Linked DNA regions of Homo sapiens: region 2 is linked to region 1. Evidence: promoter capture Hi-C in 16 types of primary human blood cells and fetal thymus (Javierre and others, 2016). All regions are on one chromosome and are shown on one strand. The core of a region is centred on a gene start or on the middle of the fragment in contact, and the rest is flanking DNA. Distances in the headings are between cores, read along the strand shown.

Region 1 (7,369 bases), core at 2,103-4,602:
TTCACAAGGCTGCTTCCTGCCTGGCCTGCTATGAGTGACTCACCTCACATGGTAATGCAGTTTCACATACAGCCTGGGAAGCACCCAGACATCCAAGACACTCGCTTTGGAAATGTTCCTGATGGCGGTGGACTCTACCACGTTTTTCAGACTAAGACCTCCTTAATGGCCTTGCCCTCGGGCACGTGTCAGGTGGGGTTTGTGTAGTGAATAGGCTGCACGTGGTCGTGGGCGTGATTGTTGTTCCTTCTTTTCTTTGTCTTCTTGGAAGTGAGGACCTGAGAGGGCTAAATTGACTTTAAGGAAAGGATTACTTGCAGAGGTGTGGTTAGGGCTGAGGGAACAGGGATGGAGAGGCCAGGGACCAGCAATGGCGAGAAGCCGTTACCACACCTAGAGTGAGGTCCACCCTCTCAGTGTGTCCAAGACTGAGAGGACTTGCAGTGCTAAAGCTGGGCAGTCCTGAGAAAATCAGGATGGGCTGGTCGCCTTATGTAGAGCTGAAGATCAAGAGAAGCAGTGAGGTGGCAGAAGCTGTAATCATGGGGAGATGTAGCCATGTCCCCAGACAGTGGTCTGAAGTGGTTGGAAGCAGGGAGGGAGCTGGGAAGAAACATCTGACCTGTCTCCTCCCTCTGATCTCCTGCTGGTGTCTCCCTTTGGTCAACTCAACTGGAAGCCAGAGTGCCAGGGAGCAGCCCACAAGGGTCAGAGGAAGGTGGAGAATGGAGCGGGAGGGAGGCAGATGGAGCATCACCCAGTGCGGAGACTCAACATGCCATTGCAGGGAAGGCATCCAGGCCACTCTGCTGCATAGTACGTGCTCAGTAAGTGTTGACTGTAATAATGATGATAATTAGCTCAGAAAGCCCTACCCTCTTGGGGCTCCTTTGTCCCTGTAACTTTCCTATTGCTCGGCACCCGGCCTGACCCATGGTAGGTGCTAGGTTGGCAGTATCCACTCTCTTGCCCCCTCCCTTTGGTGGCAGCAACCTTCAGTCCCCTCTGCTTTTGTGTCCTGCCATCAGGGAGGGACTCTGGGCAGGTGACAGTCTCCAGAGATGGAGCCCCTCAGTAATCAGTATAGCAGTGTGCAGCAGCTCTTCCTCTCTGTGGAGGGCAGGAGGGGAGGAAACTGCTCCTCCCTGGGCTGCAGAAAGAAGGTCTGAGCGTGCATGTCCTGTCTGAAGGTAGAGTGGAGAGTAGGGGCTGGTGGAGGCAAAGTGCCCTCCCAGGCTTCTGTCTGGGCCTGGGCTGTGAACCTGGGTGGGAGGGAGGCTGTCTCCAAGCAGCAAGCCGGGAGCTCCATGAGAGTGTGCCCTGGTCCCTGTGTGCCTGTCACCAGCTCCCAGCACAAAGCGTGGCCCAGAGAGCGTGCTTGGTAAATGTGTGCAAGGGACTGGCGTGAGTGTCGTGTCTGGGGTGAGGTGAGACTTGTGTTTATCGACTGCCTCTCACTCCCACCAGCCTGGCTGCCCTGTGACTCAGAGGGCTGACAACACTTCCTTGCCCAGGGGGCCCACAGCCACATCCTGGAGGCTAGGGCCCACTCATGACTGTTTCCTCCTCCCACGCCACCCAGGGAGAGATAAGGGAGGCTGAGAAAGTGATCTCAGCCTGGGGAAAGGAGACGAAGGTCAGTGGGAAGGGGCGGCTTCATCCAGGGATCACTTTTCGAAAGGTCTTCCACGGAGGGCCCTGCTTATAGGCAGAGAAAATGGGGCTCAGAGAAGTTGCGAGTTGCCCCAGGACACACAGCTCAGTGTGGGAGACGTCTCGGCTTGGCTCCCTGAAATGCCCAGTGTCCTAACTCCAAAATCTCCTCTTGGCTATTAAGGGACTAGTTCTGCAAGTGCTCTCACTCCCATTCCTTGTGGGAGCTGGGTTCAACCTCTTCAAGCAACGGGGAGCCACTTACAGCCTCCCAGGGGCCCTAGGAGAAGATCCCACAGCTCCCTCTGGTCCTGGAGCAGGCTGTCTCTTCACTTGCTGGGCTGTGGGGAACATGGGAGGGAGGCCAAGCCTTCTCCGTGGCAGTCCCATGTCCTCTCTGTTGGGATCCTGGGGACACAGCCTGGCTGGTTGTCCTGCTCATCTGATGGGGGTGGGGAGCACAGCGATGCTGTCCTCGCTCCTTTTTTTCAGGCAAGTCTCTGTTCACTTTGAGCCCATCTTCTTGCTGAGAGAAGGGGGTGGGGAGGGCCAGTGTCTAAAGTCACCTCCTCAGTCACCCCTCGGCCCTGACAGTTGACGTCTCTGTCTTTGCTTGGGGCTGTGTTTGGTCCCAGCAGACTGAGGTGAATAGGAAGTGGGCGGCGGGGACCATATGAGGTGATTTAAGGAGCTCCCCTGGCCCCTCTGAATCAGAAACATGGGCTCCTGCATGTGGGGCAGGGGAAGATGGGAGTGACGGGGCTGCTGCGTGGGCCTCCTGGGGCTTTTTTGGAACACCTGCTTTTTGGAGCTGTGCCTGTCTCCACCCAGGGTGGTCTGTGTCCTTGACCCACCTCCAGCTCCCTCCAAAGTGGCTGAACCTTTCTGTGGGGACTCTGCTGTGGGGTAGAGGCTCAGGGATCTCAGGTATTGGTTAAATCCCCTGCCCTCTCTTCAGCCTCCATAAGAATGTCCTTTGCTCCCAGGCTTCTGGGCCCTGCCTGAGGACCCCAGGCCTTTTCTACCTCCTGATCAAGGGCCTGGGCCCCACGATTGGGCAGGGATCCTCTTTCTGTCCTTGAATTCACTTTGCCAGCATAGGCTCACTTCCCAGAAGGCTCTGCCACTGTACGGCAGAGGCACAGGCTATCCCCACTCTCGCCCTGTCACCTGTGTCACACACCCTGGACCTGGGAGGAGTGGTGGGCCGTTGGCTGGGGGTGGGATGGGAGCAGGCCTGGATGCTCTCTCTGGCAGCCCATTGCCCAATGCTCCTTCTCCTACCACCTGTACAGCCCCAGGCCCTGCAGCCTTGGCTTACAACAGGGGCCTGGGACAAACCCCGTAGAACAGAGCCCTATTGACAGTGGCCTCTGGGGCTGGGTGGGAGGACAGCAAGCCAGCCACTGGGTGGTGGGGGTGGCCATGGGAGCCCGTATCATCCTGTGCCAACCGAGGAGAGCCTGGGGGCAGGGGGAGAAGGTGGCATCCTGCCCCAGACAGTCTCGGCTCAGCCCCAGCTCTGGAGCACAGGTGATAACCGGGAGGGCCCCTCCCTCCTGCTTGGGGAGAGGGCACTCCCCGTGGCCCTAAGGACCCCTCCCTCTCCCCTTGGGGCGATGGGGCAGGAGTGTCTGTGGAGCTGGGGAGCCGGCCCAGTTGGGAAAAGATAAAAAGCCCACAGTGGCCCAGCAGCTCACGGCACTCCCTTCCTGCCCTCTCATCCTGCCCTCCGGCCCCTCTGCAGCTATGAGGTCCTCCGTCTCTCGGCAAACATACTCCACAAAAGGGGGCTTCAGCTCCAACTCTGCCAGCGGAGGGAGTGGGTCCCAGGCCCGCACCAGCTTCAGCTCAGTGACGGTGTCTCGGAGCAGTGGCAGTGGTGGCGGGGCCCACTGTGGCCCCGGCACAGGTGGCTTTGGCAGCCGAAGCCTCTATAACTTGGGGGGCCACAAGAGTATCTCTGTCAGTGTGGCCGGAGGGGCCTTGTTGGGGCGGGCTCTGGGGGGCTTTGGCTTTGGCAGCAGGGCATTTATGGGACAGGGGGCTGGCAGGCAGACGTTTGGGCCTGCTTGTCCTCCTGGGGGGATCCAGGAGGTCACTGTCAACCAGAGCCTGCTGACCCCCCTCCATGTGGAGATTGACCCCGAGATCCAGCGAGTGCGCACTCAGGAGCGGGAGCAGATCAAGACCCTCAACAACAAGTTCGCCTCCTTCATCGACAAGGTGGGCCAAGCAGGAAGGAGGAAGGGAGCTCTTGGGGAAGAAGCGGGACCTCTAATAGAGGGTGGGCTGGGCCAGGGCTGCTGTAGCCCACTTGTACTAGGGTGGTGGTTGATAGAGCTCTGGAGCTCTCCCGGTCTGAGCCTGGGATGCCGAGACGTGGGTGGCTGGAGGCGGCCTTCAGGTCTTCACCGTGCCTGTGCGGGGGGAGTCTCCAGTCTACTCATGAGTCCGGTTTGCCAAGTCCACCTTGCCCGTGTTGAAGCCTGTCCTACCACCATGATTAATACGATTGATTGCACAGTAGCCTTACCTCATCATCAAAAAATGGATTGTCCTCATAGCTCCTCTTAGTGGGGTGGCCTGCATTGCCTTTTGTCATTTTACAGCTGGGGAAACAATGCTCAGGAGTTGAAAGAGTTGTTCAAGGCTAAGAGCATGGAGCCCTGTTTGTTCCATTCTTTCAGGCTTGGAGGAGGCTTAAGGGCAAGATGTGATCAAAACACAGTTGTGTGTGGGTGGGGTCCTAGGGGTAGGCTCCCTTCCGCTTCTCCTTTTTTTACACTCTGAGTGAAGAAGCTCAATTTGGGGTGGACAATGAGGAGGGTGGTCACCAGGTCACCAAGCTCTGGGAATGTGGAATTTGACCTGTTGCCCATAGGCATGCCCTGAACCTTGCCCTTGCCTCCAGATGGATGGGAGCAACACTTGTGCTGGGATTTCCTGGTCTGTTTCGCTGGCATTGTCCACCTCGATCCTGAGCCAAGGCAGCGGGTCATGATGGGGAAGGTCTGGCAGACAAATGTACCTTGGTTCAGTGATTTGTGTGTTTCCGAAGAACATGCACATCCCTTTTCTCCTGAGGTACCCACAGTGCTTCTATGAAGACTCAGAAATGGTGATATTGTGCCCATTTTTGAGATGAGAAAATTGAGGTCTAGAGAGCTCAAGTGATTTGCCCAGGATGATACAAGGAGTTGGAGGCAGAGGCGGGACTGGGACCCAGGCCCCTGGACTCTGTGGTTCTTGGCACTAAGAGTTGTTACTGCTCACAATAGGCACACCTGCTGCATGATGCTCCCAGGGCATGTGACTGAGGCCCAGGTAGTGTGGAGATGGGACCTGGAGATATTGGATGACAGAATATGAAGCAAGCCGTCTTGCCTGCCTCCTCACCCTCTCCCCTAGTGACTTTTGGTTTTCCTGTGGGACTGTCCCAGAGGCCAAACAAGCCAAAACCTTTCTCAGGATTGCAGAATCACAGCTTGGGAGCTGGAGGTCTGAGAGATTGTCTTGGAACCCCAGCTGGGCCAAGAACTCTCGGGGGTCCTGTTAAACCCACACCGTAAGCCTCCTTCTGAGTCTATAGAGGAAGGGCTCAGACATTGGTACTTTAAAAAAAGTTTTTTTTGGGAAAAAATGTTGAATTTACAGAAAAGTTGCAAGAATAGTACAACATACTCCTGTATACTCTTTCACCCAGTTCACCAATTTTCTTAATTTATTATTATTATTTTTTGAGACAGGGTCTTGCTCTGTTTCCCAGACTGGAGTGCAGTGGTACAGTCATAGCTCACTGCAGCCTCCATCTCTTGGGCTCAAGTGATCCTCCCACTTCAGCCTCCTGAGTAGCTGGGACTACTGGTGCATGCCACTACACCTGGCTAATTGTCTTGATTTTTAGTGGAGACAGTCTTGCTATGTTGCCTAGGCTGGTCTTGAACTCCTGAGCTCAAGCACTCCTCCAGCTTCAGGCTCCCAAAGTGTGTGATTTTAAACAGTTGATTTACATTTTAAACAGATGATTTTAATGCAGAATTAGGGGTCAGAAACATAGATCTAGTCCAGTTTATGCAGGACAAGTGAGAGAGGGAGACTCAGAGAGAAATGATTCGACCAAGGTTACCAACTAGTAAATTGGTACTGCTACTGAGCTGGGCTTTTGTGCTTATTAACTTGGTAGAGTTCTTTCCATCAGATTGGACGGTCGTTTCCAGCAGTCTATTCCCCTAAGGAGTGCCTCCCCACAGCAAAGTGTAGGTGCGGCTGCAGCGTCCCTATGTTGCCCTGGCCTTGGAGGGGAGGTGGCAATGGACCCCATCCTTGGCTCCTCTGGTGACCGGAGGGTGACATCAGCCCACCCTTTCTGCTCTGGCTCAGGTGCGGTTCCTGGAGCAACAGAATAAGGTGCTGGAGACCAAGTGGGCACTGCTGCAGGAGCAGGGCCAGAACTTGGGTGTCACCAGGAACAACCTGGAGCCCCTCTTTGAGGCCTACCTGGGTAGCATGCGGAGCACGCTGGACAGACTTCAGAGCGAGCGGGGGAGGCTGGACTCAGAGCTCAGGAACGTGCAGGACCTTGTGGAGGACTTCAAGAACAAGTGAGGAGAGCAGGCCAGGCGGGGCCATGTGGGAGTGAGGAGGGGCAGTGGGAAACCTGCCAAGAGGGCCACCCCATTCCCAGGGTCCCAGGCCCACCTGGGGGATGCACAGACAGAGCTGGCTCCCTCAGGTGCTCAGGTCCAGCACCTGCTGCCACCTGGAGAATTGGCAGGTTTGTTTGTAATTTAAAAAAGTTTTTAAAGTAGGGGGAATAGTATAATGAACCCCATGTTCCTGTCACCCAGCTTTAATCATTATCAACTCATAACCAATCTTGTTGCATTTTTTACACCTCCCCACTTCCCTTCTTCCCGTGTAGTCTTTTTTTTTTACCTTTGCCTTTTTCTACGTGTTCTGATTCCCTTGTAGTCTTGAAGCAAATCCCAGACATCTTGTCATTTCATTCACTAATATTTTACAAGTTATATTCATATATCTGCATGTGAATGTAGTTCATCTATGACTCAGTAAAACATACAGTGGCATAATCACACCTAAAAAATTTTAAAACAATAATTCCTCAATATCATTAAATATCCAGCCAGTTTTGAATTTCCAGTGACCCCATACATGTCATAAATTTAAAAAATACAGCTTATTTGACTCAAGCTCCAAAGGTTTATATATTATAATTGGTTGATATGCGTATTTATAACTTTTAAACACGCACATTTAAAAATGACTTTTCCCATAAATTGACCATGGCAATTTCTAAACCTTAAAATCTCATCAAAAGTGGTTGGGGAGGAGTTAGCTGGTTTGAATGACACTGTGTTGTTGAAAGTGATGGTAAAGGTCAGCCACTGTTGACACATCTTCACTTGTCCCTCTAAAGCCTCCTAAGGGCTTGGATCCAAAGAGATGGCAGCTCTTGATTGCCATATTATTGCACAAATTCTGTGCCTCTTTCCCTAAAATGGGGTGGGGAGAGAGAATGTTTAAATCAAGGCAGACCCCATGTTTCTTCACTGGTTGGCTACATTAAAGAACTGCTCCCCAGAGGTGTTCTTGATCAGTGAGGGACCCATCAGGGCTTCTGTAAGGCTGAGTGGGTCCCATGCCTGAAAGGCAGAGCCAGGCTGAGCCTGGCCTGAGTCTCCCATGTGTAACA
Region 2 (7,369 bases), core at 4,292-6,791, 260 kb after region 1:
TTTTGGAGACAGAGTCTTGCTCTGTTGCCCAGGCTGGAGTGCAGTGGCACAATCTAGGCTCACTGCAACCTCTGCCTCCCAGGTTCAAGTGATTCTTCTACTTCAGTCTTTTGAGTAGCTGCGACTACAGGCATGCACCACTGCGCTCGGCTGATTTTTGTATTTTTAGTAGAGGCGGGGTTTCACCATGTTAGCCAGGCTGGACTCAAACTCCTGACCTCAGGCAATCTGCCCTCCTTGGCCTCCCAAAGTGCTGGGATTACAGGTGTGAGCCACCATGCCCAGCCCTGAAATAATTTTTTAACATTGCACTGTACCCACACTACCTGAGCTATAAAGCAGTGATACTTCCTGTTTGAAAATTGAGTGCTCCCTGAAGTTGCCAGGAAACTGGCAGAACAGCCCACCCTGAACCTGGGAGTGAAACTCAGGGGGTCCTGTTCCTTGGTGACTTCAGCCATAGGGTGTTTCCCCAGGGAGTGCAGGGGCTAATATCCCAGCTCCTGCCTGACTTCCTAGAGTAGGACAAATAATCTTATCCAGGAGAGAAAATCCAACTGGAGGAAATGCAGCTGACTGGAAAGGTTCTCATGGTTGTAAGGCAATGTCAAGGTCACCACCACCCAGGCCCTGCCCAACACAGAAGGCCCTAGACAATATCCCTGCTAGGGGGGCATGCAGATGCTGCAGAGTCATTCCTCTTCCTTCCTGGGGTCCACTTCACTGCTAGACAGCTGTGGTCCTTAGCATGGCCCAAGGACGGACCCTGGAGCTTCTTACCCAGATCCAGATCTTTGAGGACATCTTTCCAAGAAGAATCATCTTTCCATGTCTTCTTTTCCCTGAGGTAAAAATTCCAGCTTCCACACAAGACCCTATAATAGAGAGATGGTTTCTTTTGGGAAGAAACCTGGGGTTTTTCAGGTGAGTCTACTCTGGGGAAAGCCAGGCATTTCCCCTGCTCCTTGCTGATGGTTAAGCAAGAAGGAGGTAGCACTGGAAAAATAAAGCTAGGAGATCTCTTCAGGGGATAACTCTTCAGGTCCTTAATTAGGGAGCACAGATAAACTCCAAATTAGACCACTCCACTCTGCAAGGGCAGCATATTCCACTTGCTATCAGAAGAGCTTTGTTGCTGCAAAGGGCTTGGAGATCTCTGTTCTACAAATTGCCCATGGCCCCTGGCCCATCAGCAGGGGAAAGGAGATAGTGGAGAGACGCCCTTTTCCGGTGTCCTGGGCTCAACAGGGATAAAAGGAGGCAGCACTCTGGGTGCCCCATCAGTGTGTTCTCTACCCCTTGGAGACTGCTTTTCTCCAGCTCTGTCAACTCAACCTTTCCCACCATGAGTCGGCAACTGAACATCAAGTCCAGTGGTGACAAGGGCAACTTCAGTGTGCATTCGGCAGTGGTGCCAAGGAAGGCTGTGGGTAGCCTGGCTTCTTACTGTGCAGCTGGCAGAGGGGCTGGCGCTGGCTTTGGCAGTCGGAGCCTCTATAGCCTTGGAGGGAATCGGCGTATTTCTTTCAATGTGGCTGGTGGCGGCGTTCGGGCTGGAGGTTACGGCTTCAGGCCTGGCTCTGGGTATGGAGGGGGCCGGGCCAGTGGCTTTGCTGGCAGTATGTTTGGCAGTGTGGCCCTGGGGCCTGCATGTTTGTCTGTGTGCCCACCTGGGGGCATCCACCAGGTCACTGTCAACAAGAGCCTCTTGGCCCCCCTCAACGTGGAGCTGGACCCTGAGATCCAGAAGGTGCGCGCCCAGGAGCGGGAACAGATCAAGGTGCTGAACGACAAGTTCGCCTCCTTCATTGACAAGGTGGGTCTCATAGGAGGAGGATGAGGCCGCACCCTGAGGCCTGAGCAGTTTTCCTGCTGCCTGGGAATGGACTGCACACTGTGGCTGGAAAGGTGCAGCTGGGCCTCAGGAAGGGCTTCCTCACCATTAGGGAAGGAGAGTAGGTCTGTGAGCCACGGAGGACAAAGGAATACATGAATATATCGGCTTCTTTGGCGATTTTGCAGGGAAGGATGGGAAGCTGGGTAAAGAGCAGCCCTTCCTTGACAAAAAAGTGATGAGTTTCTTGAGGACAGCTGGATCTTCCAAGAACATGAAAGGCTAATAGAATCCAGCAGTGTTCAGAGGGAAGGGCTCATGGTACAGGAAGAGACACTTAGTTGAGACATAAGGAAGGACATCTCCTGGGACCAGGGCCGAGCAATAGAAGAAAGCTGTGGAAACTCCTTGAGTGAGTTCTCAGTGATGCCTTGTCCAGAAGGCTAGGAAATGAGCACTTGTAAAGGATCTAGTTTGTGTGGAATGGCAAGGGTGGAGAGTCAAGACATGAGCAAAAATGACTACAACAATCTATGGCAAACCTGGGGAGTCAATGGTGTGTGTCCAGGGGGCATGACTGCACCCATTGTGGTTCCAGGTGTCTGTTGATTTGGGTTCCAGGTACGCTTCCTAGAGCAGCAGAACCAGGTTCTAGAAACCAAGTGGGAGCTGCTGCAGCAGCTGGACCTGAACAACTGCAAGAAGAACCTGGAGCCCATCCTTGAGGGCTACATCAGCAACCTGCGGAAGCAGCTGGAGACACTGTCTGGGGACAGGGTGAGGCTGGACTCGGAGCTGAGAAGCATGAGGGATCTGGTGGAGGACTATAAGAAGAGGTGAGCAGGCTCCACCCGAGGGTCACAGACCATGTTTCCCGTGCCTCTGGGCTCACCTGATCTCTGTGCCATTATTTTTTAGGAGATGGGGGAGTATGCACCAGGGTCAGGAGCTCACATCCCTTTCTCTGGCTAGGGGGAAGGGCCTATCCTCTTTGATGATAACTTCCTGCCTAGTTGATAGGAAGCGGTTCCTGTGCTCCTTGACCCACTGAAATGTTCAGTTGCTGGTGTCGGGAGCCCAATAGGCACCTGGGTGTTTTCCTAACATGCAAAAACTAGGAGACAAGTGAAGCAACTCAGGGATATCTTACTCCTGTCACTAGCCTCTTACTGCTCACCCCAGAGACCCTGCAGGGACCCTGTATCCCAAACATTTGCCTGGCCAGCAGGAAGAGAAAGTTCCTTGGCTAAGGGGGCTAAGGCCATCTACTCTCCCTGCTGGCAGATATGAAGTGGAGATTAACCGGCGCACGACAGCAGAGAATGAGTTTGTGGTGCTTAAGAAGGTAAGAGAGGGAGGAGCCTCCTTATTAGGGTCTCTCGCACCCCCATCTTAACAACTCTGCTCAGGACTTCAGCCCAGGAGGCTGGGGAGGGGGCTGGTGCCTGGTGAGGGGGCTGGTGCCTGGTGAGGGTGGAGTCATAGTCCTGGCCTCCAGTGAGTTGGAGAGGAAAGACACACACTCAGGAAATGGACAGAGACAGACAGAATTCTGGTCTGGGAACTGTGAAACTCGGGTCCAGCTCAACCTTGCTGTGTGACCTGAGGAAACCTACTACCTCTCTGGGCTTTGTTTTCTCCAGGCATAACAGAGCTGCCCCATCCTCCTTTCCCTATTCCCAAAGCTTCAGGCAGCCTGAGAAGAAATTGATATTGAGTGAGCTTTCCTTTGTGGGTAGAAAATAGAAAATCAGGTGGCTTTGAGGCAGGAGTTGGGCAGGGCAGCTGTGGGATGAGGGTTGCATCCCCCAATGACTCTGGGGCCTCTTGGCAGGATGCAGATGCAGCCTACGCAGTCAAGGTGGAGCTTCAGGCCAAAGTGGACTCACTGGACAAAGAAATCAAGTTCCTCAAGTGTCTGTATGATGCAGTAAGGACACTCCTGTCCCCCCACCCTCACCCTGCCTCCTTCCCGACTCTTCCAGGGAGATACCAAAAGGAGAGATTTAGGATCAACAAAATGAAAGATGTTTTGGTAGAAAGGTACAAAACCCTGCACCAGGAGACCATGGAAGTGCAGGATGCTGGTCCTTGGAGGCCATACATACAGGAGGAAATTGATCTTGATACAATAGTGGACTTGCCCACGGGCAGGAAAAGATAACCCAGTGAGGTCTTACAAAGCACAGAGCCTTGGATTCTGTGAAATTGTGGAAAATGCATTATTCACCCGTCTGCATGTGCCAGCGGGCATCTGCCATATGCAGGGGTTCCTGCTGCTGTTAGCTGCTCTCCCTCAGCTCTGCAGACACATCCCAGAGGGCACTTCTTCCCCCTACTTTGTCCCCGTGGATCCTAGCAGCCTATTGGGCCAGGGACCATGGGCCCAGAAGACTGATGGGGCAGAAGAGGGAAGCCAGGGGGTTGCTGAATCTGTCTTCCTCTCTCAATGCAGGAGATCGCTCAGATCCAGACTCACGCCAGTGAGACCTCTGTCATCCTGTCCATGGACAACAACCGGGACCTGGACCTTGACAGCATCATCGCTGAGGTCCGCATGCATTATGAGGAGATCGCCCTGAAGAGCAAGGCCGAGGCCGAGGCCCTGTACCAGACCAAGGTGGTCACCGAATGGGTCTCCTCCCACAGCAGCCCTTCGCTTCCTGGGAGGGGTCACCTGCACAGTGAATGTGAGGAATACTTTTGTGGGCATGCTGAATGAAAGAAAGGTTCCAACCAAGGCTTCAAGGAAAAAAGGAATTCTTAGCAGAGCTTGTTATCAAAGATAAATCATGAAACTGGTATGGATTGAATATATGCAACAGAGAGGATCCCTCACTTCTTTCCTCCATCCACGAACTGCCTGTTCCTCTCTGTTGCAGGTGAAAGAAGTGAGGTGGTAAAACAAACACACTTATAGGAATGGGGGCATGTTGCCACAGGGCAGAGGGAGAATCACAGACTTGCGGGAGTGTAGCCATGGGTGAATTTGGTGGGGGGCGAGTGAGAGAAGGAGAAGCCTGTAGCTCTTTCCTGATCCCCACGGGAAGACTTTCAAAAGGAAATGGAAGGCGAGGAGTGCTCTGAGTAATGGAACTATGCTTTGGGTAAACTGAGTAATGGAACTATGTTTGGGGCTGTCAGGGAGAAAACCCCTTACCTGGGCCCCCAGGACCCTGTCCCAGCACTCCTCTTCAGTTCCGTTAAATCCCACCGACAGCCAGGGTGGCAGGGGTGGCTTATTTACAGGACCCTTCCCCAGTGCCCTTGTCTCATCACCAACTTCCTATCTCTGGGAAACCAGATCCAGGAGCTGCAGCTGGCAGCCAGTCGGCATGGTGACGACCTGAAACACACCAGGAGCGAGATGGTGGAGCTGAACCGGCTCATCCAGAGGATCCGGTGTGAGATCGGGAATGTGAAGAAGCAGGTGGGCAGCAGCCCCACAAAGAACTCCCGGTCTCCACAGCAGGCTCTGGGATGAGGAAATGGGGCCTGCCCTTTGGGAACAAGCAAATATCCCCTGCTGGGCTTAGGGGTCCCTCGGCCACCCACAGTCTCCCTTTCCCACCCTGCCTCGGTACCCTACCATCAGAGCTGGTACCCCGCCCAGAACTGGGAGGAGCCTCAAACCTATTTCTCTGACTCCTCATTTTGCAGATAAAGCAACTGGGCTGGGAAGGGGAAGGGACTTTCCCAGAGCCCCCAGCTGGTAATGAATGGAGCTAGGATTAGAACCCAGGTTCCCCTTCTGCAGATTTTTTCTGTGTCCAATGAACCTGCCCCATGTCCCCTTTGGGTGCCCCCTCTGAGGGCAGACCCTCTGTCTCCTCCTCCCACTGGACATGGAACATGTGTGGGGTGCAGAGGGTATGCATCAGGCGCCTCTGTTGGCCACACCAGGTTCCTGCTCTCGGAGTGGGGCATGGTCTGTTGACTGAGGGACACAGCTGTCGATGAAGCCCTCCTGGGTTCCCTTGCCCTGTGCCATGGTACTACTTCCATGTTAGTGGGCGGGGGGGTGGGGGTGGGGGGCCTGTCTTACCTGACAGCAGCAAATTTTAAACACTGCGTCAGTGGGGAGATGATATTGGAGGCTGGAGGATCCTTCCTGTGACCTCTCTGAGAACCAGGTCTGCTCTGCTAGTGATAGAATTGACCAGCGGAAAGATCTGAGCCTGTTCTCCTTCTGGTGCCCCCACAACCCTCCATGCTCTGCAGGCAAACACAGGGACAACTCTACGACTCTACATTTGGCCGATTCACAAATTCCATGAGCATAGTTCCTCCCTCTCTGTTAGCAACAGGCATCGCAATGCCCCCCAGATGTTCATCAGAGTCCAGCTTCTGAGGTTGTGCCTATAATTTAGGGCCTTATCCTCCTGCTCTAAGGGAAGGCCAGATGTGGGAGCCTTCACACAGACTCTCCCCAGAGTGCTGGAGTCCAGAAACACTCATCTGGATGCTAACAGATCAGAAGGATCCCCAATGGGGAGAGGTCCTGCAGCAGGAATCTGATCACAGTGGGACCGTGGCATACTGTCTCATCCTCAGGGCTGGCCTTGCTAGGGGATCGGGCATGATTTTCCTGAACCTGTAGTATTTTGAATCTGTAGATACTGGTGGCCTCCGGTCTCAGGCACTATCTAACTTTGCAAACATCGACATTTCTTCCTGACCTCCTGAAATGCAACTGCTTCCACAGCTTCATGTGATAACAGCTTTGAATACTCCTCTGCAATAGAAAATAGAAGAGACAAAGTTCTGGTGTTGGCTTTGCAGCTTTTACTCCTTGTCACCTAGGGCCCCATCTGCAAAATGAGGGCATTGTTCTACTTAACTGGTATGAGCTAAATGTAATTTTCTGTTCTGATGGTCTCTCTGTTCTTTGCCCTTCAGCGTGCCAGCCTGGAGACGGCCATCGCTGACGCTGAGCAGCGGGGAGACAATGCCCTGAAGGATGCCCAGGCCAAGCTGGATGAGCTGGAGGGCGCCCTGCACCAGGCCAAGGAGGAGCTGGCGCGGATGCTGCGCGAGTACCAGGAGCTCATGAGCCTGAAACTGGCCCTGGACATGGAGATTGCCACCTACCGCAAGCTGCTGGAGGGCGAGGAGTGCAGGTAGGTGGGGTGGAGGGGAAAGTGTGAGAAGGGACTGGGGTGTGGCTCCTGTCTGGCTGAGGGGCCACCTGGAGAACAACATGGTTAGTGCCAATACAAGCAAGAGATGTGGTGATTTCGTGAACTCAGAGGCAGCTTCCTGCAAGGGGTTGTTGGACATGAGCCATGAAGCGTAGATGGCCGTGTGCTGCTGTGATGAGAACCGGGGGCTCAGACAGACCTGGGGCTAATGACTGGCTCTTCAGCAGGGGCTAATTATTGGCTTTATCCTATGCTAGTGGTGTGGTCTCGGTAAATCATCTAGTATCTCCAGGACTCTTGTTTTCTCATCTGTAAGATGAAGGCGATAGTGTCAGTTTCGTAAGTTGTTATAAGGATGAGTTTAAATGATGCACGTATAAAAGCAGGAGCCCAT

Evidence for each region. Contacts are between HindIII fragments. The CHiCAGO score rates a contact against its expected background, and 5 or more counts as called.
Region 2: a contact is called between a fragment that was not itself captured here and the fragment with the promoter of KRT79 in region 1, in 6 of 17 cell types (naive CD4 T cells, naive CD8 T cells, total CD4 T cells and 3 more). The highest score is 10.8, in naive CD4 T cells.

Annotation. Positions count from the first base shown.
Region 1 is chr12:52,830,294-52,837,662 of GRCh38, reverse strand. It overlaps KRT79 (keratin 79), which reads left to right and starts at 3,352. Exons shown (of 9, transcript NM_175834.3): 1 at 3,352-3,879; 2 at 6,037-6,257. The coding sequence starts at 3,403. RefSeq lists an enhancer at 1-880. The HindIII fragment of the contact is 16,661 bases long and covers 1-7,369 here.
Region 2 is chr12:52,567,754-52,575,122 of GRCh38, reverse strand. KRT74 (keratin 74) reads left to right here and starts at 1,280. Exons shown (of 9, transcript NM_175053.4): 1 at 1,280-1,816; 2 at 2,456-2,670; 3 at 3,119-3,179; 4 at 3,669-3,764; 5 at 4,290-4,454; 6 at 5,139-5,264; 7 at 6,734-6,954. The coding sequence starts at 1,346. RefSeq lists an enhancer at 2,686-2,855. The HindIII fragment of the contact is 4,039 bases long and covers 3,522-7,369 here.